Regions from separate parts of the Homo sapiens genome. Here region 2 is linked to region 1. Evidence: promoter capture Hi-C in 16 types of primary human blood cells and fetal thymus (Javierre and others, 2016). All regions are on one chromosome and are shown on one strand. The core of a region is centred on a gene start or on the middle of the fragment in contact, and the rest is flanking DNA. Distances in the headings are between cores, read along the strand shown. Region 1 holds the start of PI4KB (phosphatidylinositol 4-kinase beta). Region 2 overlaps CGN (cingulin).

Region 1 (4,374 bases), core at 1,377-3,876:
TTTTTTGAGATGGAGTCTCGCTCTGTTGCCCAGGCTGGAGTGCAATGGCGCAATCTCGGCTCACTGCAACCTCTGCCTCTCAGGTTCAAGTGATTCCCTGCCTCACCCTCCCTAGTAGCTGGGATTATAGGCACCCACCACCATGCCCAGCTAATTTTTGTATTTTTAGTAGAGACAGGGTTTCACCAAGTCGGTCAGGCTGGTCTCAAACTCCTGACCTCGACTGATCCACCCACCTCGGACTCCCAAAGTGCTGGGATTACAGGCGTGAGCCACCACGCCAAGCCGATTTTTTTTTTTGAGACAGGGTCTCACTCCGTTGTCCAGGCTGGAGTGCAGTGGCATGATCTTGGCTCACTGCAGCCTCTGTCTCCCAGGCTCAAGTGATCCTCCTACCTCAGCCTCCTAAGTAGCTGGGACTACAGGTGCATGCCACCATGCCAGCTAGGCTAATTTTTGTATTTTTGAAGAGACGTGGTTTCACCATGTTGCCCAGGCTGGTCTCAAACCCCTGAGCTCAAGCAATCTGCCCACCTCAGCCTCCCAAAGTGCTGGGATTACAGGTGTGAGCCACTGTGCCCAGCTGACAAATTTAAACTATCTTTGGCACTCTTGTCCCCATTCTTTGTTCATCTTTCATACTGTACTCCTGCTTTAACCTAGCTTGTCTGCTTGCCCTCTCCTCATGATATGAGCAAATTCCCATTTATATTCTTCAACATACAATTTTTTTGCTTTCAGAATGCTCGCTTGTCTTTTATTTTGCTGGGTTATATCCAATATCTATTCTAAGACCTGACTCACAATATTTCTAAGAAGCCTTCCATTCATTCATTCACCATATACTGGTGTGTGTGTGTGTGTGTGTGTGTGTGTGTGTGTGTGTATGTGTGTGTGTCCATACACATATAGGCCTTCCAAATTAACTTAAACTCCACTATGTCCCTTCAGCAATTAGGTTAGGTACCCCATTTGTTCTACTGTTGTATATACTGCATGTTTTACACAGGCATTTTCAAGCTATTACACTTTATTCTGCCTTCCAATTAAACATTGTAGCAGTGACTCTTTCATCATCTATCCTGTATGATTGTCCCAATAATTAATAATAAAGTACTATAGTAGCAACTTGTACTCTCTTGATCCTAACAAAACCCTGTAATGGGCTAATATTACTTCATCCATATGTCTTCTTTGTAGACATAGAAACTGAGGTTTAAAGAGGTTACATTAGTTATTCCAAATCAAACGGCTTGTAAGTGGCAGGGAAGATGGCATTCAAGACCCGGGCTCAAATAACTAGCCTCAATGTATTAAGTAAGGCACTAATGAGGGGCATTGCATATTAAGTAAAGCCCTAGGAAAGGCATTGAGATAGAGGTTCTGAGGACAAAGAGGGCTCTAAATCAACAATCTTAACCGAAAAATACACAAAAAACTTGCTGGGCGAGGTCGGGCCTATAATCCCAGCACTTTGGTACCTGAGGCCGGCAGATTGCTTGAGGCTAACAGTTCGAGACAAGCTTGGGCAACATAGCAAGACCCTGTCTTTACAAAACAAACAAACAAACGAAAAATACACAAAAGCAACACCAGAGGCCCATTTGCATGGCGTGTTTTTGTTTATTTGTTTGGCCTAATATGGTTTCGTTTTGTTTGGAAGAAGGGATTGTGCCCTCCAAGCCTTTGTCGTTTCACTCACCTCTCCCAACCTGGCCCTGTCCAGCCCCTCCCTGGAGGGCTGGGCATATGGATGCTGGAGGTCACAGGCTGCCCAGGCAGGTTGGTGACCTCGGAGGCAGAACCACGGCCTCGAGTCGGGCCTCTAACGGCGAAAAGACTGACGCGGTTGGACCGCGCCATTCCCGAAATGTTAAGGAGCTTAAACTCCGCATCGTCCTCCAAGATAAGTAGGAAAAGGGCAGTCAGAAAGAACGTCTTCCCCGTCCGCCGTCTTCCTGCGCGCCCTTCTAGGAACCCAGCGTCCATCCCACGGCCTGATTTACTAAGGGAGTCTTGTAGCATACGGGAGGGGGAAAAGTCATTGATTGCAATTACGGTAATTTGGTTAGTTACTCAAACGGTCGTTTACATATAACTTGCATGTTAATATACTTCTGGAAGTATGCATATGTCCATACTTCTTTAACAGGGCACCCACGGCCGCCTGCTCACCCTACTTATGCAGCAAATTTTACTTCTCTCTCGGCTTCTTTAGCCTCGCAAACGCTATCGCTTAGGTCCGCTTCTTAAATATTGGCCCCTCCTCCCACCCGTAAGCTCCTCCCTTCGCCCTCTCTCCCTCGAGAGCTTCCAAACATCTTTTCCCCGCCCCCTTTTCTATTTCTGAACAGGCATGTTCCAGGCAGCTCACCCGACTCCTTAGATTACTATGGAATCGGTAGGGTCCTGACCGCTGGGGAAGCAGGAAAGCGTATCCTGGGAAGAAAGGCTTGGCTTGGACTCCGGAGAAGAATACTACATCGAGACCTGCTGGGGAATTTTATTTTATTTTATTATTTTTTTGGTCTTGGTTGTACTGAGGGAGGAAGAAGAGGTTGTGTGGCCCGGTCGAACTTGTGGCAGCCTGAAGGCCCCCTCAGGCGGCGCCGCGGGCAGCCCCGCAGCCGGGGCCTGGTGCAGCCTCCGCGGCCGCTGTCAGGGAAGCGCAGGCGGCCAATGGAACCCGGGAGCGGTCGCTGCTGCTGAGGCGGCAGTGTCGGCAGTCCAACCGCGACTGCCCGCACCCCCTCCGCGGGGGTCCCCCAGAGGTAAGCTACTCCTCCTTCATGAGTCACCTTTGCCCTGTTGGGTGGGGGGGGGGGTCCCTCTCCCACCCTGTCCCGCACAGTCTTCCCCACCTGAGTTCGACTACGAAACTGCCCTCTTGGTGTCAGCTGCACCCCGGGTTCCTTCTCCACCCTTTCCTCTCAGGCCTGGGGTCCTCCTCCGCTTTTTGGCTTCCTCTTCTATTAGCTCCTCCCTCTGCCTCGGGGATTCCCCCCTCCCTCACTCATCCCTGTTGCCTACGTCTCGAATAATTCTTTTTTTTAAGTCATGAACCCTTTCCATATCAGACGACTCCCATAATGCCCATCCTTGTCCTTCCTCGTCGTCTCTGCCCCTGCCCCAAACCTTTTCCATGGACTCCACCTTTATCTCTTTTCCTAGTTTGCACTTTTCCTCCTATGTCCCTGTGCAACTCCAGCACTGGGTTCCCATTTCCCTGAGCTAAAGATTGCATCCCTGTCTTCCTGTGCTGCTTCTGATTCCATTACCTCACTGTCACCCACCTACCCAGCCAGCTCCTGGCTTCCAAGAATTGCCTGTTCCCTTCTCCTTAAGGGATCTCGGGCCCTTGTCATCAATCCAAAAGTACCATTTACATTCTTACTTTGAACCTAGTCCTCACTCTTCTCTGGGATGCATTATGATCCCTATAACTTTCTTTAGCTTCTCTTTCTCCCTCCTCAATCCCCCAACTTTCTAGAGGTTTCTGTCTGTAGGGGAGAGATTTGACAGTGCCCTTCCCATTCAGGATTTCCAACTTTGACACCTCCCTCGAGTTTCAGGGATTTCTCTGATCCTTGTGACATTTGTTCTGTTTTTCCCGTGGGCTTCATGTGTTCTCTGTTACACTCTTTATCTCCACATACCACTTATTTCAGGATCAACTAAACCTTGAACTAAGAAGAAAAATGTGTTGTGAGCAGGGGGAGCCTCAGCTGCCTCAGGCCGTTCAGGACAGAAGGGTGTTTCTGAAGGCCGGAGCAAGTTTTGAAGAAGTCCCTATCAGATTACACTTGGTTGACTACTCCGGAGCAGCCACTAAGAGGGATGAACAGGCCTGCGTGGAAATTGAATGAGATTGTGAGAAAACTTGTTTCAGATTATTTAATTTTAGGCTTTTGTTAAAGGAATCACAGAATAGAGTGCCTTCTCACCCCTGTCCAGATCCATGAGGAATCAGTTTATTCTTGTGGTTTACTAGAATAGTTTTGGTTGGTTCCATAAGAATTCAGGCCTGGAGTGGGGTAAGGGTATAACTGGAAAAAGGAACATGAGACAATGGAAAGAGCTTGTACATTCAGAATCGGGACTCCTGGGTTCAGCATGTGACTTCCTCACTTGACCTCTAGAGTGATCCTTTTGGAAAATGCCCACTCTCTGTAGGCATCAGTGCAGTAATAAGTTGGTAGCAGGATGTGGGTTGGGGGAAAAAATCAGATTTGGTTTATTTGTTTACAAAACATTTTGGGTTCCTCAGGCAAAAGGTATTTATTAGTAGTGGTTTAGTCATCCTGAGAATTTTCCTTCACCTTGGTCTTTCTGTCAGATGTTTCTAGTCCACAACCAGGGGTGTAAGTCATTTTG
Region 2 (4,374 bases), core at 577-3,076, 210 kb before region 1:
CAGGGACGCCCCGAACCCTCCAGCCTCAAAGGAGTCTTCACCCCGCGACTCCCACTGCCCGTCGCAGGCAAAAGAATAAAAAGAGAGAAGCGCCGCGCAGGGCTGACCGCGCGAGCCGGGCACCAGGTGATGTCAGCCAACACGGCGCGGGGCACGGAAGGGGCGGACTTAGAAACCGGGAATACAAAACGGAGAAGACAGCGAGAGCGCTTTTTCTTACCGCCGCCTGGTCCTCTGGGTGCACGTCCACCAGGGTACACCAGTTCCGCGTCCCGTTCATCTTCCCTCGGGGTCGCAGCACACACGCCACTTGTCCACCCCGCTGTCTGGCTCCAACTGGGCGGGCGCGCGCGGAACCGCCCCCTTGTATAGGCCCATCAGGGGCGGGGCTGAAGATAGGCCGCGCCCCCAGTTCGCGGTTTCGCAGAGAACTAACGATAGGCGAGGAGGTGAGGTGGGCGGAGCCAATGGGTCTGGGACATGCCCCATCGGTGCTCGCATAGATTTACACAAAGGTGGGGCTTGGGAGCGACATGGGGCTGCTTTAACTGAACAGCTTTATCTGGAGTATGTGGTTGCACATTCTTCATTAATCTTGTCGCTTTCCATCTTTCCAAGATCAGTGTTGGTCAGAGGGAATCACCCTGCCTGCTCCTAGTGGATGAGGAGTTGGAACCTGCAAAAGCTTCCTTCCATACATGCTCCTCTCCCTATACGTAAGCCACCTGTAGGCTTTGTGGAGCTGAGTAAACCTTTCCTCCACCGCAGAAAGGCAGGCACCAAGGTCCAGCTCACTCAGACTGGCCTAAGCCAGTCTGGCAGGTGCACTTCCTTGGCAAGAGGCCCAGGAGGCCCAGTCAGCTTAGGCTCTGGGTGGGGCTTGTTTTGCAGAAGCTCTTTTACTGACGCTGCCCTTATATAGTTGGGAGAGGCGGGACACATTGCCTTAAAAGGAATTTGTGTTCGTGAGAAAGGATGAGCCTTGACTTTTCCAGTTGCATTTTCTCCCCAAGCCTAGGCTGGGATCTTGAGGGCCTAGAAGAGAGGGTTGGCCAAGCAGGACCCTGGAGCTTCGTCCCCGCCCAGCTGCTCTTGGCAGATGGCTTCTTCACTTGGCTGTGGTCCACAGAGACAGCAGACAGAATACTTTAGGAGGAGGTCTGACCCACTCCTGAAGGGATAGTACTCCTATACCTGGCAATAGGCTCTAGTGAAGGGCCAGCTCCCTCTTCAAGGCAACACTAGGGCAGGAACAGCAGAAATGTCCCTACCTCCCAGTTAGGGACTGGGTCCTATGTCAGTTAGGAATGAATGAGGATTTTTCTACCTGGGAAGTGAATGCTGGGGTTATCACTATGACCCAAGGGAATAAAACCCAGTTCTGGTCTGTTCTACTCTAACCCTCAAAAAGGCATTTACTGCTGGCCAGGCGCAGTGGCTTATGCCTGTAATCCCACCACTTTGGGAGGCCGAGGTGGGCGGATCACAAGGTCAGGAGTTTGAGACCAGCCTGACCAACACAGTGAAACGCCATCTCTACTAAAAATACAAAAATTAGCTGGGTGTGGAGGCACGCGCCTGTAATCCCAGCTACTCAGGAGGCTGAGGCAGGAGAATCGCTTGAACCCGGGAGGCAGAGGTTGCAGTGAGCTGAGATCATGCCATTACACTCCAGCCTGGGTGACAGAGTGAGACTCCGTCTCAAAAAAAAAAAAAAAAAAAAGGCATTTACTGTCCTTGTTCTTCCCAGAAGGTTGTTCAGGAGAGAAGAGAATGGGGCTGCTATAAACATCTCCAGGTTTCGTAGGTCCCATCTGCTCTGTTCTAAAGGGCCTCTGAAAAGTCAGGTGAAGAAAACTCCAGCTTCGGCTCCTAAGCTGTACAGTTAATATGACTTCATAAAATCTGGACCTCCAAATATGCCAAGAAAAAGAATGAGAAGACAAACCAAGGATTTCAATATAAATGTGTAATTTTAATATTTAATTTAAAATAAAACCAAGGCTGGATTGGATTGGGAAAGAACGTTTGATTTGCAGAAGAATATAGGAATTTTTTTAATCACGACATTACAAGTCATTTGTGAAAACAGCCTTCCTCCTGCCACCGGCTCCCTATACAACCTGCTTAGGAAATATGGAGGTGAATCATCCCCCTTACCTCTTCCCTACCAGGGCTTGGTTCTCCCCAAAATCCAAAGGAGAAATAAATGTCTTCCGTTGCCTCTTCCCATTTTTACAGTCAGCTTCTAACCCCTTGCAAAGCCCTGAATCAGAGCCAAGCACCTCAGAAAATGAGGGTCCCTTGGTTCTCTTATTGAAGTTGGGCACATGTGGTCAGAGAAGCCCCAAGGAAGGCCACAGGGACTGACACCTTTACTTTTGGAATTTGTGCAGCCAGTTGTCAGGGCTCCCAGGTGCAACCACCTTATAACCATATCCACAGTCACAGAGGAGGGAGAGGAGGAAGGATGAAAACCCTGAGCAGGACCAGACCCCCGCCACTTTATCATGACCCTACCAAAGTCCCTCTCCCAGGGGTCATTGGCAGAGAAACCCCAACAGCTCTCTCAATCAATCACTGGGGCAGCAGGGAAGGCTGAGGGCCCTGGCTGGGGAAAAGCTGGTCTTTGGAGAGGTATGAATGTGCAGATATAAAAAGCAAGAAGAGCATCCTTATCTCCTTGCCTTGGCTAAGGCACTGACAGGAAAAATGCAAGGTAGGAATGGCAAAGAGGGGAAAGGAAGAAGACAAAAATATAGGAACTGGAGGGGTATGGGGACTACCACATGGGCCCCATACTTGTGCAAAGAAATGGGTAGAGCCATGCCTGCATGTCTGTTACCCATAACATTCCCCTCACCCTGCTCCAGAGTGGAAGGAAAATGAGTTGCAGGAATCCAGGGAGCACAATAACATAGGGTATTTCCCTGAGCCTTAGGGTTAAGGGCTAAAGAATAAAGCTTTATACACATGGCAATTTCTATCCCTTCCTATCCTTCTCAGTCCCCATCAGCCTAATGCTGACCATCCTTCCACTATAAGAGAGATGAGGGAGGTGTCGGCACTTGAGGAAAAGGCTCAGTTGGCTTGAAATGTCCACTCCTACAGTGGAAAGTCCATCTATCAGCTTATTGCTGATGATTTTTTTTTTTTATCACCATCACTCTGACCCCTCCCTGTCTTAGGTCTGAATAATTGGGTCACCCATAGGAATGCAGAACCCAGGGTGGGCAGAGCAGAGCAGCACTTGCTGGGATAGGCCTCGAGCCTGGTTTCTGAGTCCTTGAGGACCACGAGCTAACAGGAGCTGGTCTGTAGGTTGCTCTCCGTAAGCAGTGATGCAATGGACGAGGGATCGTAGACACTGTCGAATTCCTCATCTGAGCTCAGCCCTTCGTTTTTGAGAGCTGACTCAGCAGCTGAGCGGGAAGCTTTGCGCCTGACTCAGAGAGAAGAATAATGGTTGGGGAGGGGAAAATAGAAATATTAAGACAGCCACCCTTTTTGTACAAAGGAAACCCCAATTCTTCTAAGGCCTAAAGTTTATTCACAAAATCCCCAACTAATCAGATTTGGGGAGGTACAGGATGGTGGCTGAGATACTAATAAATAAATATACTGGCTTCCAACCAGAAACAAGTGACTACACAGTACCATGTTAGAGATTCTCCTCCTTATCCAGCACAGGAGAGACCATTCCCTCCCTGCTCTAGTGTCCCTATGGAGCAAGGGCAAAAGGGTAGCCCATACCAGGAGTCCTTCTCCAGAGACTTGATCCGGGCCTGGAGCTGTTCATTGACCTCATGCTGCTCCTCCACCTCACGCTGGGCCTTCTTCCTCAGGCCGTCCAGTCGCTCAATTTCCTCTTCTGCTTCATCCACCTGACGCTTCAAAGCCTTCACCCTCAGGCTTAGCTGGGCAGGATACCAAGTCCACACATCTGAATAGCATCTACTACCATGGCCTGGGACCCTCCCCCATAACAATCTTGACAAGGTATAATTGCCGCTGGAAAAATGTGGCCTTGGGCAAGTTCCTTAACCTCACATGGTTGTCTTAGGGATTAAATGTATTAACACATGTGTAATACTTACAGAACCTAGCACATCATAAGCACTCAATATATACGCTTACCATGACTTCTCTAGTCTAGTCTTTTCAATCTAATCTCTGTCCTTATACAAGGAAAGTCTAAGTTTGGAGGACCTATAGGAGATAAGGGCCTCCCTTGGCTTTCAGGAAAACATATAATATATACCTGCCCCAGGTTGCTTGGCTCCAGGGTGCCATGTCCTCACCTGGTCTTTCTGGTCATTGACATGCTGCCGCTCGTCTTCAATCTGGATGGATAGTTCTTTAACTTTCCGCTCC

Evidence for each region. The method cuts DNA at HindIII sites, captures the fragments that hold promoters and counts their contacts. A CHiCAGO score of 5 or more calls a contact.
Region 2: a fragment that was not itself captured here is called in contact with the fragment with the promoter of PI4KB in region 1 in 1 of 17 cell types (erythroblasts); the score reaches 6.4 in erythroblasts.

What each region holds. Positions count from the first base shown.
Region 1 is chr1:151,325,668-151,330,041 of GRCh38, reverse strand. It overlaps PI4KB (phosphatidylinositol 4-kinase beta), which reads left to right and starts at 2,626. Exons shown (of 12, transcript NM_001369623.2): 1 at 2,626-2,771. RefSeq lists a silencer at 2,189-2,258 and an enhancer at 2,194-3,118. The HindIII fragment of the contact is 3,220 bases long and covers 1,526-4,374 here.
Region 2 is chr1:151,536,273-151,540,646 of GRCh38, reverse strand. It overlaps CGN (cingulin), which reads right to left. Exons shown (of 21, transcript NM_020770.3): 19 at 4,302-4,374; 20 at 3,754-3,917; 21 at 1,955-3,442. The coding sequence ends at 3,301. It overlaps TUFT1 (tuftelin 1), which reads right to left and starts at 338. Exons shown (of 13, transcript NM_020127.3): 1 at 221-338. The coding sequence starts at 280. RefSeq lists enhancers at 1-45, 46-561, 1,077-1,593. The HindIII fragment of the contact is 2,278 bases long and covers 688-2,965 here.